Linked DNA regions of Homo sapiens: region 2 is linked to region 1. The links are contacts of gene promoters, found by promoter capture Hi-C in blood cells and fetal thymus (Javierre and others, 2016). All regions are on one chromosome and are shown on one strand. Each heading gives the region's core, a stretch centred on a gene start or on the middle of the fragment in contact. The rest is flanking DNA. Distances are from core to core; before and after follow the strand shown. Region 1 holds the start of CDAN1 (codanin 1). Region 2 overlaps UBR1 (ubiquitin protein ligase E3 component n-recognin 1).

Region 1 (4,771 bases), core at 1,686-4,185:
TATAATTTTACAATAACAATGGATAGGAATTTTACCTCTCTTTTTATTAGTTTAATATTATTTAATATTATGTACATAAGTGTTCACTCGCCTAATTAAAAACATTGAGTAAACCAAGTTTTTATATAGACTACCCTTGCCATATGATGCTCTTTTTCTCTAATAATATGCAGTTTAAATCCTGAGGAATCAATGCCCAGCATTTCACCACATCTGAACTCTGTGTGGGCATTCTTCACTCGCCTACAAGGGGTAAACAAGGCTACCAGAACTTGAATTTGACTTATAGGGAGCTACCCAGGAAGGGGAAAGCCCTTGGGACTTTTTCCAAAACAATCTTCTATTTGAACTGTTCATCAGCCAAAGTAGTCCACTGAGGTGACAAAGCTTTCAGAAATACAAAGATGGGAAGATAAAGGTAACACTGGCCCACTTGGGGCTTTGACATTGGATTGGGTGGACTGAATAAACACAGCCTAGGTGGCCTGGGCTTGAGCCTCACTTACTTCTCCTTGATACATAGTTCCTGGTCTACCTTCTGACCCTTTTTCTAAAATAGCCAGTGTCTATTTCACTAGGCCATTTACTTACAAGTTCCCAGCTTTTAGGGAAAAAAGAGGGAGGGGGGAGCATCTAGTTTTGAATTAGATATACATCTTAGAAGTAATGAGCTATTGGCAGCTGTTAAATCAGATTCAGCCACAAACCAGAATTCTTTCTTGTTGAACAAGACCAATGAGTTAGATGACTTTAATAATTCCACTTTTCTCTCCCTCTCTTCTCCTCTTCCTGAAATCAGAGAGATGAGAAACTACTCTTTGAAATACCTCCAGAGGCGTTTTATTGTGTTCCTTTCCCCTCCAAGCAGCTCCCTTTATACAATTTTGCTCAGGCAACCAAGGACAGAGTATCGGCAGAAACATGGAGTGCTTTTGTATAGGCCACCTGTACATAAAAGTGTAATTATTTATTTAATTTTCCCATTTGTATCATATTAAAGCTTTGTACAGTGTTTTAAGTTCTGTTTTAAAATTATTTTGTATTTTATTTTTATAACCTAGTAATAAAATATTCATTCCGCATGCAAAATCTAGTTCTGTTTGTGTGATGGTCTGGATTTCAAAAGTGGAAAATATTTTTCTAATTTAATAAAGTTATTGAATACACCAGATGTTACAAGATCAACGGGGAGCAGATAGTGTTACTGTAAATGCAGTACCACATCTAGAAGTTCCCTAGAAAAAGCAGCCCAGGACTGAATAGAAGCTAGGTGTTAAGTGTCCCTGCAGTTAGGAGATGTTTTCCTGTAATAAAATTAAAATATTAAAAGCTCCTTTTTAGTCCATTATTCTGTCTGGCTGGAGGTACTTTTTCCTTCTCCATAGGAAATACCCCTTCTGCCACTAGAGAGATTCCTGCACCCCCACCCTCATCCTTCCGCCCGTAACCTTCCTTTGAACCAGAGCAACTCTCAGGAGGCATTCACAAGGGCACTGCCTCACCCCTCCTGGTTTGGTTTGACATGGAATGTTCGTGCCATCTGTTTTTCTCCGCTTGGATTCCCTTGCTTGATTTGTCACTGAGCAGCAACCTTCAAAATCCTCTCTCAGGTTTTTTTGTTTTGTTTTGTTTTTGAGATGGAGTCTCGCTCTGTCACCCAGGCTGGAGTGCAGTGGCGTGATCTTGGATCACTGCAACCTCCGCCTCCCAGGTTCAAGCGATTCTCCTGCCTCAGCCTCCCCAGTAGCTAGGACTACAGGCGCGTGCCACCACGCCCAGTTAATTTTTGTATTTTTATTAGAGACACGGTTTCACCATGTTGGCCAGGATGGTCTCCATCTCTCGACCTCGTGATCCGCCCACCTCTGCCTCCCACTGCATTCCAGCCCCGGGGGTGACAGAGCGAGACTCCATCTCAAAATAAAATTAAATAAAGGAGATTAAGAAATTACTCAGGCCGGGCGTGGTGGCCCACGCCTATAATCCCAGCACTTTGGATCTGCTGCCCTCTCCCGGCCAAAACATTAGCTGGGCTATAGCCCTAGGGAGGCTGAGTCGGGAGGATTGCTTGAGCCCAGGAGGCCAAGGCTGCAGTGAGCCGTGCTCACGCCACTGCACTCCAGCCTGGGCAACAGAGCAAGACCCTGTCTCAAAAAAAACAAAACAAAAACAAAAAACACCAAACCCAAAAATACAAACCTCAAGCTCCCAGAAGCTAATCATGATATGCTTACTGACATCTAAACTGCAAAGTAGTTGAAATATTAACCTCATGTAAACCCACTTAAGTAAATAAAGCTACATACAAGCAATTCTGTGTGCAGGGTGGCCCGAGGCACTTTAAGGGTTGTGGCTTGGGGATTATTAAGAACCTCCTAGAAATAATTCTTTCCTAAATGGTCAGTTGATGGTGAGCGCTGAAAAGCCGATGGGTACTGCTCGGCCAAGGGATTGAAAAATCGGCCTTTGAGAAGAACAAAGTCAAAATGAAAGATTAGATTATAATTTCTCTGGGGTGGTGCCAGTTGGATCTAGGAAACTTAAACTCGTGAAAGAATGTGCTTAGAGCAGAAGATAGAAGCTGGTGGCTGTCTCTGCTCCCCTCTACCTCTCTCCCGGGTCCTGGGTCTCCCTAGAGGGGCGTCCGACCCGCGGCAGCCCCACTCCCAGCTCGAATCCCTCCCTTCAGGTCGCTCCAGGGCGGGCAGCCAAGGTGGGCCTCCCCAGGCGCTGTGATCCACATTTCACCTCCTAACAACCGGCCTCTCGGCCGGGGTTGAGGACTCAGCGAGGCCTTGACTCCGTGGGTCTGGGCAACAGCCGGCTCCGCCCCGCCCCGCCAGCCGGGTCCCTCCCCATCCCGCGACCCAACGGTCGTTCCCCGCCGCCGGCCCCGCCCCTCCCTGGCCGCCCGCGGCGCGCCGGCGCCTGCGCAGTCGCCCCAGAGCGCCCCGACCGGGATGGCGGCCGTTTTGGAGTCGCTGCTGCGAGAAGAGGTGTCGGTCGCAGCCGTCGTGCGGTGGATCGCGCGCAGCACCCAGGGTTCGGAGGTAACAGCGGTGACACGCCCCCAGGTCTGACTCGAAGCCGGTTCCCGCAGTGGAGTCCAGCCCTCCAGTCCCCTTCCTCTAGGGCGCCTGGCTGCCAGCCGGGCCGAGTGCACTCCAACTGGGCGCCGCTGCCCGGGCCGCCCACCCGAGGCGCGCCCTACGGCCCCGGCTGCTCACGGCCCGCGGGCCGGCGGCTGACCCTCTCGCCCCTCCACCTGTGCTTCTGCCCTAGGATAACGCTGGGGAGGCGGCCGCGCTGAGCTCACTCCGGGCCCTGCGGAAAGAATTCGTACCGTTCCTGTTGAACTTCCTGAGGGAGCAGAGCAGCCGCGTCCTCCCGCAGGGGCCCCCGACCCCCGCCAAGACCCCGGGCGCCTCGGCAGCCTTGCCAGGGAGGCCGGGAGGCCCGCCGCGGGGTAGCCGCGGGGCGCGCAGCCAGCTTTTCCCTCCGACCGAGGCCCAGAGCACCGCTGCCGAGGCCCCTCTGGCCCGCCGCGGGGGCAGGAGGCGGGGCCCGGGGCCGGCCCGCGAGCGTGGAGGCCGCGGCCTGGAGGAGGGGGTCAGCGGGGAGAGCCTGCCCGGAGCCGGGGGCCGGAGGCTTAGGGGCTCTGGCAGCCCCAGCCGCCCCAGCCTCACGCTGTCTGATCCGCCAAACCTCAGCAACCTGGAGGAGTTCCCTCCCGTAGGCTCGGTTCCCCCCGGCCCTACAGGGTGAGACTCAGCTCTCATGCAGGAGATGGGTACCACGAAGGCTCTGGGGAGTCAGTCATTCGAGCTCGGCGCTCCGCAGTGGAGCGCCAGGATGGGTAGAAGGCTGGGGGTGATGGTGAGGGTTTTTGTGGGGTTTTTTGGCAAGAGGTCTAGCTGTTGCGGTGGTGGAGGGGAGATGTTTGAAGATAGGAATTTGAGAAAAACCTGTGGCTACTCTCAGCAGGACGAAGCCTTCTCGCAGGATCAACCCAACTCCGGTGAGCGAAGAGCGGTCACTCTCCAAGCCCAAGACCTGCTTCACCTCACCCCCAATCAGCTGTGTCCCCAGTTCCCAACCCTCAGCCCTGGACACTAGCCCTTGGGGCCTTGGCCTTCCCCCAGGGTGCAGAAGTCTGCAAGAGGAGCGAGAGATGCTCAGGAAGGAGCGGTATGGCCTGGCCGCTCCTGGGGATATCGGTTTCCTCGCTGTGGGGGATCTTCAGGGGTTTTCCCTGAAATTGATTTCCCTCTTGGGGACTCTGGGTTTGTCTCCTGGGCTGTTGGTATCTTCTCTGGAGTGACCTGAGTGTGGCCGTAGCAGGGAAGCCAAGCTGACTGCTCATGAAATTTCTTTATTCCATAGCTCTAAGCAGCTGCAGCAGTCACCTACCCCCACCTGTCCCACCCCAGAATTGGGGTCGCCCCTCCCCAGCCGGACAGGAAGCCTCACAGATGAACCTGCAGACCCTGCCAGAGTGTCTTCCCGCCAGCGCCTGGAGCTTGTAGCCCTTGTTTACTCCTCGTGCATTGCTGGTGAGTGAGAGCGGAGGGAGCGGGAGTGGAGACACTTGTAGAACTTATGGGTAAGAGAATTGGTAAGGCACTTGGAACTGAGCCTTGGCTCCAAATGGTGCCCATACCATGGGCTTTCTTTTTGTATCTATCTAGAGAACCTGGTACCAAACCTCTTCTTGGAGCTTTTCTTCGTCTTTCAGCTCCTCACTGCCCGGAGGATGGTGACTGCCAAGGAC
Region 2 (4,771 bases), core at 1,614-4,113, 220 kb before region 1:
AAGCATTATGCAGCAGCCAGACGTTTTAGTAAAATACTTAAATTAATTCAAGATCTCAGTAAATACACATAACTCTTACATTTTGTTTTAAGGATAGCAGTTAGTAGTCATAATTAACTGCTTTCATGTAGTAGTCCTCAGTCATATGTGAAATAACTTGCTGTCATTTGAAGGAACCAAAAAAAAGGAGTGCAGTTTAAATTTGTTTTTGTTTTGTTTTGTTTTGTTTTTGAGACAGAGTCTCGCTCTGTTGCCCAAGCTGGAGTGCAGTGGCACGATATCAGTTCACTGCAGCCTCTGCCTCCTGGGTTCAAGCAATTCTCTGCCTCAGCCTTCCGAGTAGCTGGGATTACAGGCACCCGCCACCACTCCTGGCTAATTTTTGTATTTTTAGTAGAGGCAGGGTTTCACTATCTTGGCCAGGCTGATCTTGAACTCCTGACCTCGTGATCCACCCACTTCAGCCTCTCAAAGTGCTGGGATTACAGACGTGAGCCACCGCACCTGGCCGGTTTAAGGTTATTTTGAGGCCAGGTGCGGTGGATTATGCCTGTAATCCCAACATTTTGGGAAGCCAAGGCGGGCAGATTACTAAAGGCCAAGAGTTTGAGACCAGCCTGGCCAACATGGCAAAATGCTATCTCTACTAAAAATACAAAAAAAATTAGCCAGGTATGTTGGCGCATCCTGTAGTTCCAGCTACTCAGGAGGCTGAGGCACGAGAGTCACTTCAACGTGCAGGCACAGGTTGCAGTGAGCTGAGGTCACACCACTGCACTTCAGCCTGGGCAACAGAGTAAGACTGTCTCAAAAAATAAAAGATCATTTGAGGTCTTAAAGAGCCCCTCTTTGACTCGCTCTGAGAATCACTGCCCTGCGGAATGACTCAGGAAATTCTCTTATCTAGTTATAACCATTGTTTTAAGCCATGAAGTTGGGGAAGTTAACTGGCCCAATAGGGTCTTCAGTAGCTCACACCCTAGCCACTGTTACAGTATAAAATTGACCTTCCTGTTCTAGCTCCCTTTCTAGTCAATCATCTAAAGGAATGGTTGGGTCACTTTACCTTTCAGCCCTCAAACAATTAGCTAATTAGTTTCAAAGATTGCATCCATCTCTAAATTCAGTAATTTTCCTAATCTTGGGGCTACATTGCTACCACAAAAGCCTGGTGAATAGATATTATCTTCCAGGCATTAAGAATACCAGGTTGGCTGAGTACAGTGGCTCATGTCTGTAACCCCAGCACTTTGGGAGGCTGAGGTGGGTGAATCTCTTGAACTCAGGAGTTCAAGACCAGCCTAGGCAACATGGGGAGACCCTGTCTCTACAAAAAATACAAAATAATTAGCTAGGCTTGGTGGCATGTGCCTGTAGTCTCAGCTACTCGGGATGCTGAGGAGAGAAGATCACTTGAGCCGAGGAGGTTGAGGCAGCAGTGAGCCGTGACTGTGACACTGGACTTCAGCCTGGGTGACAGAGCCAGACCCTGTCTCAAAAAAAAAAAAAAAAAAAGAATATCAAGTTGTTGGCTCCTCGGAGGATCTGTGGAGAGTGTTGGTCTTTATTAATCACAATGAGGATCCTTCTGGATGATATTACCACTTATGATTTCACATAAGAATGAAAATCAATCCTATGATGTCTTCCAGTTTTATTGTCACCACCAATTTCCATAAGACAGAACCATCCCTAGTGTTGGAGGGTGGCTGCTCAGTCATATACTTTAGGCTCCCTCCCAGCTTTTCCTCTGTAGGATGTCTAATGACTCAGACTCAGCCATCCTGTGTTAAAGATGAAAGAAGATGTTGGCTTTATCCAAAAAGGGCTATAATTATGTTCTGGAGCAACCTCCCGGAAGTGAAAATAGTCCTCTCATCCTATGCGCAGAGTCCCTCTGCTCCTATGGAGACAGGTGTTTTTTGTTTTGTTTTTTATCCTGTCTGAGAAACTGGGGATCAGAAAAAAGGCTGTCAGTACCCTATTGGAGATTCTTTCTGATCTTCTTTATTCCGACCCCAGTGTGGGCCTAGTTGGATCTCTCCTTCGGTTGCATTTATCTTCTACTTCCCAAATTAAGGAATTTGATATTTCCCATTGTGTTCAGTGTACAGCATAGATGGGAGGAGCATGGGAAACTCCTTTTTAAAAGATAACCATTATCCCCCTTGGTGGGGCATTATAGCACGCCTCCAGCATACTATGTAAAATGGTCTCATCATAAAACACTAGTTGACTCAAGCAAGTCAGCACTATCACTTTTTCCTTCCTAAGACTTACTGTGATTCCCAGATGGAAGGCTGGGCCAACTCAAAGGCTACAATCTCTCATTTCAGTCCCAGCTACTCGGGAGGCTGAGGCAGGAGAATTGCTTGGACCGGGGAGGCCGAGGTTGCAGTGAGCCGAGATCATGCCATTGCACTCCAGCCTGGGTGACAGAGCAAGACTGTCTCAAAAAAAAAAAGAAAAGAAAAGAAATGGGGGGAATGTGTTTGGACCCTTACTGTAAATTTTAATTTTTTTTCTTTTAAACAATTGCATACTTACAAGGTCATATTCCTTCAACATCGAAGACACAAGCTTGACTAACACAATACAGAGGAGGCAGGTAACTGTAAATTGGGCATGTCAGATGAAGACTGGAGTCTATCAGTGAATCTCAATCACAAGGCATATTCAACCACCATACTTTATGAGAATTATCAGGACACCATTTATGTAATATAGATTTTCTTACTATGGATTAATTGGAAGATTTTCCATGAAGCCCTTTTAGGGGGCATATTAAAGAGGAATTGGCTAATTAAATGTTTCCTTGTGTTTTAAGAGCTTCCTTGCTGGAAAGGGGTCAGTGATGAAAACATGCTTGATTGCTAACAGGATATATGGTACTTATTTGTTTTGTTTTGTTTTTCCATCATTCTCTAAATGTTTTCTTCTCTTTTGAGGTGCCCACGGTCTGCAGATGATGAGCGAAAGCATCCTGTCCTCTGCCTTTTCTGTGGGGCTATACTATGTTCTCAGAACATTTGCTGCCAGGAAATTGTGAACGGGGAAGAGGTTGGAGCTTGCATTTTTCACGCACTTCACTGTGGAGCCGGAGTCTGCATTTTCCTAAAGTGAGTAGTGAGTGTTCTGGAAGCTTCATGATGAACTTAAGGAATCTGGATCCAATCTGGGGGTCACTATGGTGGGACAGTGTGTTGATAGCAAATAATCAATCAGAAGTTAGAGTATTAACCTGTTATTGACATGAAATTGCATTTGAGAAGATACTGTGAAAAAAGAATAAGTTTCTGTTCACATTTCCATTATTTATGGAAAATCTTAAATAGGATAGAGTTTGTATTAATTGCTCTGGTATTATATAATACTCAGGTGTAATGAAAGAACTTCAAGTCCTAAAACTTGTATTTAAAAAGTACTCTTCCTGGAAGATGAGCTCTTTAAAATAAATAAAAATAAACAAATAAAAGGTACATGTAGGCCAGGCACAGTGACTTATGCCTATAATCCCAGCACTTTGGGAGGCTGAGGCAAGAGGATCACTTGAGGTCAGGAGTTCAAGATCAGCCTGGGCAGCAAGGCGAGACCCCCATCTCTATAAAAAATTAGCCAGGCATGGTAGCACATGGCTGCAGTCCCAGCTACTTGAGAGGCTGAGGTGGATGGGCTGCTTGAGCCTGGGAGTTCAAGGCCATGATCGTGCCATTGCATTCTAGCCTGGGCAACAGAGTGAGATCCTCTATCAAAAAAAAAAGTACATGTAAATTTTTACTTTAGATTGTCCTGTGATATCTTTATTTCATCTATCAACCCACCATTTCTCCTGGTCTTTCAGCAAAAGATTGAGGATAGAAAAATAGTCACTTATGGCCGGGCGCGGTGGCTCTCGCCTTTAATCCCAACACTTTGGGAGGCCCGAGGCAGGTAGATCACAAGGTCAGGAGTTCAAGACCAGCCTGGCCAACGTGGTGAAACCCCATCTCTGCTAAGAAGACAAACATTAGCTGGGCGTGGTGGCGCATGCCTGTAATCCAAGCTACTCAGAAGGTTGAGGCAGGAGAATTCGCTTGAACCTGGGAGGTGGAGGTTGCAGTAGGCCGAGATTACACCACTGCACTCCAGCCTGGTTGACAGAGCAAGACTCTATCTGGGAAAAAAAAGAAAAATAGTCACTTATATTTATGAAAAAAGAGTTTAAGTTGCCTGCAGAGAAATAAAATTCAAAGTGGATATATATCCTTTTTCTTTCCACTCTCCTCATGTAACACAGTTTCTGTTACATAAAGCCAAATGTCTTTCTAACTGTGAAATATGTAATCATTGTTCATAGGCATCTTTTGAACCAAGGGGAAAGAATGTATGGAAGCCAAACCCAAACACCTATTTTTAGGGAACCCACAGCAAGTAAACCCACTACCTTATCCCAGCTGTTTATTTTATAATTTATCTGTAAAGTACTTATCCCCCATATATGTGTACGCAAGCCTTTTTTATGTCTATTTCCCAAGAGACATAAAAGTCCCAGGTGCCTTCAGGGTGGTAGTGGCTCTTTTAATCTGCAGTGTTTCAGGCCAGCTCTAACCAGAAAAGCTGGCATACTTCCCTAGTTGATATTCTGTCTGGCTTGAGGTTATCAGACTAGGAGATGTGATTCTGTTCTTCTGTGAGGTTCCCTCCCCTCTCCAGGTTGTGTCAGGAATTAGAATAGAAACAACCCCAGCCACCATTTTCCAAGGTGTCTGTGGCTGAAGTAGGACAGTTTCCT

Evidence for each region. Contacts are between HindIII fragments. The CHiCAGO score rates a contact against its expected background, and 5 or more counts as called.
Region 2: a fragment that was not itself captured here is called in contact with the fragment with the promoter of CDAN1 in region 1 in 1 of 17 cell types (endothelial precursors); the score reaches 6.5 in endothelial precursors.

The regions. Positions count from the first base shown.
Region 1 is chr15:42,735,292-42,740,062 of GRCh38, reverse strand. CDAN1 (codanin 1) reads left to right here and starts at 2,935. Exons shown (of 28, transcript NM_138477.4): 1 at 2,935-3,050; 2 at 3,283-3,761; 3 at 3,985-4,188; 4 at 4,384-4,553; 5 at 4,689-4,771. The coding sequence starts at 2,961. TTBK2 (tau tubulin kinase 2) reads left to right here. Exons shown (of 15, transcript NM_173500.4): 15 at 1-1,333. It overlaps TTBK2-AS1 (TTBK2 antisense RNA 1), which reads right to left and starts at 945. Exons shown (of 3, transcript NR_186317.1): 1 at 828-945. RefSeq lists silencers at 2,749-2,998, 3,189-3,328, 3,419-3,708. The HindIII fragment of the contact is 7,008 bases long and covers 1,003-4,771 here.
Region 2 is chr15:42,950,626-42,955,396 of GRCh38, reverse strand. It overlaps UBR1 (ubiquitin protein ligase E3 component n-recognin 1), which reads left to right. Exons shown (of 47, transcript NM_174916.3): 45 at 2,949-3,119. Among named protein-coding and RNA genes, the nearest start is that of TTBK2, 32 kb to the right of the region's middle. The HindIII fragment of the contact is 562 bases long and covers 2,583-3,144 here.